Linked DNA regions of Homo sapiens: region 1 is linked to region 2. Evidence: promoter capture Hi-C in human tissues and cell types (Jung and others, 2019). All regions are on one chromosome and are shown on one strand. Each heading gives the region's core, a stretch centred on a gene start or on the middle of the fragment in contact. The rest is flanking DNA. Distances are from core to core; before and after follow the strand shown.

Region 1 (3,591 bases), core at 543-3,042, 210 kb before region 2:
CTACAGCGGCTTTGTGGTGCTGTGGTGGGCTCCTTTCATTTCGAACTTTCTGGCAGCTTTGTTTACACTGTGAGGGGAAAACTGACTACTTAAGCCTCAGTAAAGGCGGATGCCTCTCCCCCTACCAAGCTCAAGTGTCCCAGGTCGACTTCAGACTGCTGTGCTGGCAGGGAGAATTTCCAGCCTATGGATCTTAGTTTGTTGGGCTCCATGGGGGTGGGATCCACTGAGCAAGACCACTCGGCTTCTAGGCTTGAGGCCCCTTTCCAGGGGAGTGAACAGTTCTGTCTTGCTGGTGTTTCAGGCACCACTGGGGTTACAGAAAAAAAAAAAAAATCCTGCAGCTAGCTTGTTGTCTGCCCAAACAGCCGCCCAGTTTTGTGCTTGAAACCCAGGGCCCTGGTGGTGTAGGCACCTGAGAAAATCTCCTAGTCTGTGGATTTTGAAGACAGTGGGAAAAGCATGGTATCTGGGCCAGATAGCACTGTCCCTCACTCATGGCTTCCCTTGGCTAGCGGAGCAAGTTCCCCAATCCCTTGTGCTTCCGGGTGAGGTGACATCCCACCATACTTTGGCTTGCCCTCCGTGGGCTCCAGCCACTGTCTAACCAGTCCCAATGAGATGAGCCAGGTACCTCAGATGGAAATGCAGAAATCACCCGTTTTCTGCATTGGGTCTCGCTGGGAGCTGCAGACTGGAGCTGCTCCTGTTTGGCCATCTTGCCTGGGACTGAGATTTTTAAAACCTAAATGAAGTTTTGCTTTCTCCATCTAAATCCATTCTAGCATTCTCTCACTTGATATAAAAGTATAAACTCTAAATTTCTTTGCATTGCCTATAAGGTCCTAAATGATCCACTCTGCCTTCTCTGTTTCTGTCCTTTTCCTTCTTGCTCCATATGTCCCAGCCATACTGACCATCTTTCTTTTCCAGAAAGAAAACTAAACTCCTTGTCAAATTCAGACCTGTGCATTTGCTGTTGCCTCTGCTGGAACACTTGGCTCCCACCTGCTTCCACTGCTGACTCCTTCTTGTCATTCAGCATTTACTCAAAGGCTTCCTCCTTAGAGCAGCCTTACCTAGCTACTTTTGCTAAAGGAATTCTTCCTTCTTATTGTTATAGCTCTTTGTTTTATTTTTTTCCCCCATAGCCCTTGTCATTCCCTAAAAACTTCCATTCTTCTTGTGTGCTTTCTAATTGCAATGTTAGATTCATAAAAGCAGAACTTTGTTTAACTACTATATCTACAATGGTGAGGACAATGTTGGGCCCATGATAAGAGTCAGTAAAAATGTGTTAGACTTGGATGACTCTGTAACACATTATATTCTAAGATTTTATTATTGTAGGTCTCATCATTCTTAAACTCATCATGTCCATAAACAATTGCAGTGTGGCTTATTTTTTATGTGAATGCTTATTTGCATTTAAATATTGCATCAACAGCATATTTTATCTACAACATGCTAGCATAGTGGTTTAAAGTATGGTCCTGAAGTCCCTCAGATTGTGTGGATTTCTATCCATGTTCTGCTGTGTAACATTGTGCTAGTTATATAGACTCTTTACACTTAGTATTTTCAAATATTTTTATATACAAATTATGGATAATAACATTGCCCCTGCCCTATAGTGTGTTTTGTTGAGAAAATCAGAAGAAATATGTATAGCACTTAATACAGTGCCTGGCATATGCTAAATCCTCAAATGTTAGCTGTTAGTAATAGTAGTAGTATTTAATGTTTTTACACAACTGTGCAACTGTCAAGCCAGTACTTTTACATGAAAATAAGTCAATAGCAAGGTGAACTGGACAATGACCAACAATTTAAATATGTCATCAATGTTATTTAGTCCAGAAAAATAAATATATACCATTCTCATGCTATTTTTTCCTAACCTTATGTGTTTATACTGACAAGTGATAAGCTTTCTGATAACTTCAGAGGGAGAGAGGAGCAAAAAAGAGGGATTCAATAAAAGTGCATTTTAATCTCTGAATCCTTCTATAATTCGGAATTTTCTCATTCTAAAAGATCCTAATGCAAAAATTAGAATTCATAGTGATGGCAAACAACTGTACCCATATTGTATATATATATTCTAAGTTGTTTCACTTGTATGTATTGTTGTTGGGATAGAAAAGGAAAAAAATTACATTGATGTTCAATATCACGTGAAATACATATTTTTTAAAATACCAGTGATGATGTAATCAACATTACTTAGCAGAAGAAACAAACTTTACATTCTCTTATCTGCTTTCATAACGGTATATAAAGTCAATACAATAGACACATAATTATACATATCTACTGAACATTAAAATTCACCTTAAGTATTAATTCTTTATTCATATGAATAATTAAAATTTGCTTTATTTAAGTTTTTAAAAGTACTTTTGAGAACCGGCTTATTTCTAAGGACTAAATACCCTTGATATATGCTTTTGATCCTGATTCAATGAAATTGTTTTTCTATTTTTCTTTGTTCAGTATATAAAACAGGCAAACCCGCAGTTTGTACTTCATGACTAGCCTTAACTCTTGTTGAAGTATAGCAAAATTATAGTCCTGTCAAAACATATTAGTAGCTGTGGACAATCTTTGGCTACCTCTAGTTTTCATGCATATTTGTAATCTTAATAATTATCTATGCACTGCTTTGTTGAAAGGTTCATTGTTCTGATTTCTATTTAGAAAAGCTTTCTTCTTTTAAGAATACATGATTACCCAAATAGTCTACCCTAAATGTTGTATTTCTTTGGCGTAGTAAGTCTGATTTCCTTAGCATGGCAAATCTTCTCTGACTTGTGAGAAAAGTCAATTGAAAAATGAACCAAATTATTTCAATGAGAACTCAAGCAAATGTGCTTGTAGAATTTCAACAAGTGCCGTATCGGTTAAAGAAAAATGATTTGAAGGCTGAGTGTCTAGCTAAGTGCCTGATTTCTCTGTGCATATTTATCATTAATTAATCTATAAATGTAGCTACCCATGTTTATGGTATATGTAGTGGTTATTGTTACAGAAATCAGGTGTTTCATCAAATATACTCATTTAGCACAAAACAAATATAGTGTCGGCCTCTTTCATTGAACTCTCAGCAACTAAAGCTTAAGTCAAGTATGCATTTTCCAAAATGTAATGAAATCACCATCAAAACAGAATGTTACAGTGCCAGCTGTCTCCTCTTTGGTTTTCTAAAGCTTTATTTGTTGATTAAGTGGCTTGCATCTCTACAAGGCCACCACTCACTTTTCTAAGGCCTTGACCACAGACGATTCAATTGCTTGGCTGTTAAATTTTCAGCCGTCAGTGACTATTTGAATATTATCTACTAAAAGTCAAATTTTTCTGACAGAAACCACAGTAAATCAGTGGATAGATACTTAACCCTCCAGAACTCAACCTAAGGGAAACAGTTCTTCTTATGCTTGGGGAGTTGTAACAACATCTGAGAAATGCTGCCGGGAGAGCAGAATGTGCCTGTACATGGCTTATTTAAGCTTCGAATAAGTAAGAGCTTTATGCTGAAGATACTCATGAACAATGATTTACATACAAAACAACACTACTAACCTATCCCAC
Region 2 (3,287 bases), core at 591-3,090:
ACTCATTAAAAAGTGACCACATTTTCCTGATAAATTTCCTATGAAGCTGAGCTAAAACAAAATAATCAAATGGAAAATTTCCTTTTTTGCTTTTATAATGCATTAGCACAAGAATAAAAATATCTTATTAACTTGAATAATTATTAACCCTCCAGTTATTTTGTCTATAGATGTCAAATAACCGGTAATAATCAAACAGCTTATGCTTTAAAAAAATTACAAAACATGTATATTAATCAATGAGTCACAAAATACACCTGTTTCCTATTGCAATAGTAGCCCACTCTTGAAATAACACCTTCATTTAGGCATACACACACCACAGTTTCAAACTTGTTATCAACAATTTATCCTCCATAGTTGGTAATGTCTTGATATGGTCAAAGTCTATCTTTTGAAAATTCAAATACAAAATGGTTTAAAATGTCTTTTCAGCTTTTTTTTCTTATTAAAGAAACAAAACATTATATTTTCCTCACTTATCTGAACAATTAATATTGCATTACTCTAGAATAAACACTTAATTTTAATACAAAACTTGTACTCTGCTTGATAACACCAATTTAAATAATCTTAAGTTTTTTCTTTCCTACTCTATAACTTACCTTAGCCACTGTTTTGCTCTTAGAAAAAAAATTATTCAAAAGTATTCATAATTCTGTATCTTATAACTATTTCCACTAGAGTATACTTTAATAGTAGGATAGCATGTGTCCACAAATATTTTATTTGAGGCAGCAGTGAAGAGGTTAATTTACAGCTGCATTTATGAACGAGTTTTATTTATATTTGACGTGCCGTACAATATTTATGTTTCAATTCATAAACTATGTTTTCCCAAGTGGCAAGAAGTGAAATGTTAATTACATACTATTCTAAAATAGACTGAAAGACAAAAGTTTTTGTTTAAGTAAAGTTTGAAATTAAAAAATAGGGCAGTGAGTTAAAAATCTGATTTATTCTTTGGAACTACCAGATGGAATAGTAAAAGAGGATTTTGGGAGGAGAGAGAGAAGAGTAGAGAAGAGAGACAGAGATTGAGATGGATTTTGAAATTGGCCAAGCATCATATCACCGATTTTTTACATTCTGGCATAATAGTACTTCGAGGGTCTGAAGAACCACACCGGTCCGTTTTCCCTTACTTTAAAGATCTAAATGGTATTTTTTTTTAAAGTCTTCCTGGGTACACCAGGAAATTTATTTAAAACCATGCCATTGGGTACGAACTAAGAGCATTCTTCAAACAAACATGACCTTTTCTCTGTTTCTTGTATTGCTCTTCTCAACCCAGCCAGAAATCCCAGACAAGTTTATTTACACACACACCCGCACACGCACGCACACACACACCCCACACGCAGAGTGGCGGAAACGCCCTCTTTCCAACCCTTCCAAACAATTATCTCCGAGAGCAAAAGAAAATAATCAACAGCCCTGTGTGCTGGGCTGAGCCGGAGAGCCGGGCGCGAGGAGGGAGGGCGATCCGCAGGCGAGCAGGGAAAACGTGGCTCCTCTGCCGAGGAGAGGATTTGTGAAAAGGAGCGCTGGCCCGCGTGCGCCTCTTGTTCCCCGTGTAATTTGCAGCCAATCATCAGTAGGTGTCCACGTCCCTGCGTCCTCCTCACCTCGGCGCCAATCACCCCCACCCCCGCGCCCCCGCCCCCAGCCTCCACACCTCCTCCCTCGCCTTTCTCTGTGGCTCCCCTCCCCCAGCAACCGCACACTCGCACACACACAAACAGAGAGAGAAGGGGGGAGGGTGAGAGAGAGGGGAAGAGAGAGAGAGAGAGAGAGGGGAGAGAGAGAGGAGAGACTCCCCGGCTCCCTCCCTCCCTCGCACACAGCGACTGGAGACGGACGGAGAGCAACGCGCTGGGAGAGGAGAGACCACCGACAACAGACCCGCGCTCTCACACATACACTCACACTCGACTCTTTCCTCTCCCCCCACCTCCTCCTCCTTCCACCCCCACCACTAACACCATCTCCTCCTCCTTCTCTCTGCAACAAGAAAAAAAAGCCATTTACAGGTATTTTTTTTGATCCGCATATTTATTTACCCCCCCCCCCCCAACAGTTTGTTTACAAGTATTAAAGTTGTAATTGGGAGCTGCCAAGACACATCTGGATTTGTGTTTCTTTGTGTTAGGGGGTGATGTGCAACTAATTAAAGGCAGACTGGCAGCGTCTGCAAATTCTAAGGCTCCCCAAATAAAAAGAGACTGGTAAGTGATTGTTCTTTCTCTTTCTCTGGCTTTTTTTTCTCTTAAATGTTTGCTGTCCGTTGGGATTGTGAAAGTAGATTATTAATGCTGGACTCCAGCAAGAAAAAGCGTCGCTGTATTAATTTATTAATTAGTCTGCACCCGCCCCTCCTCCTGAATGTTAAATATGACCTTTGATCTCTATGTCTCTGGTAGACCAGACATACAGTATTAGGCATGTAAAGTCACATTGTTTAAAGGCAAAACAGGATCATGAAGTATGGATCTCTAATTTAGCTTTGGCATAGAACTATAGTTATTTGTGTGTGTTTTATTTTGTTTTTAAATAAAATCCAAACAATAGCTGTGGCTTAGATACCTTTTTCATGCTCCAGAGATGCATTGATTAAACAATAATGACCTGGATACTGGGCATAATCATTTTCTACAGTTTCTGGTGGTATTAAACCTTGAGGTAGGAAGAGGGATGGTGATGGCAATCAGAAAAGCAAGGAAAGCTTGTGTTTGGAAACACCACTCTAAGACTCTAAAAAAGGGACGTTAAATTATTTATTTATTTGGAACAAGGTCAAAAGACTAAAAGGTTGAAAATTTTCCCTCCACTCAATGTGATGATATCTAATGCATGGTTGACATAACTAGTTTTTACTGAGTAGCAGTTATTATGGTCTTGCAGTTACAATGTGATTCGCAGAAACTGAAGCTATATGCATATTCTTGCTGTGTCTTCCCTCACCCCTTCCAAGCATCAAGAATATTTAGCCAAGAGCATTTTGGGGGCACCTTTTGTATTGCCCTCAGACCTGAGAAGGCAGCAGTTTTCCCTAATGCGAAACCACAGAGGTGGTTCCTGAGTGATTAGGGACTTGCTGTGATTGAAAGATGCCTGCAAGCTTCTAATCCAGCCTGGGGTGAGGTTCCTTATCTTGATTTACTTTGCCTAATAGGGATTTGTTTACATAAACCCCTCTTTTTAGAGCACCTCATCAGTAGGTCTTGAAGTTTTTGCACTTGGAGTTTGGGCATAACTGGTTCATTAACCTAATTATAAGCATAATT

Evidence for each region. The method cuts DNA at HindIII sites, captures the fragments that hold promoters and counts their contacts. A contact is called where the count stands out against the background at its distance.
Region 1: a contact is called between a fragment that was not itself captured here and the fragment with the promoter of CXXC4 in region 2, in 1 of the 25 tissues and cell types used here (H1 embryonic stem cells).

What each region holds. Positions count from the first base shown.
Region 1 is chr4:104,703,695-104,707,285 of GRCh38, reverse strand. No RefSeq gene overlaps it. Among named protein-coding and RNA genes, the nearest start is that of CXXC4, 210 kb to the right of the region's middle. The HindIII fragment of the contact is 3,135 bases long and covers 225-3,359 here.
Region 2 is chr4:104,493,447-104,496,733 of GRCh38, reverse strand. It overlaps CXXC4 (CXXC finger protein 4), which reads left to right and starts at 1,840. Exons shown (of 3, transcript NM_025212.4): 1 at 1,840-2,033. The region is part of intron 1 of CXXC4-AS1 (CXXC4 antisense RNA 1); the gene reads right to left. The HindIII fragment of the contact is 3,942 bases long and covers 1-2,923 here.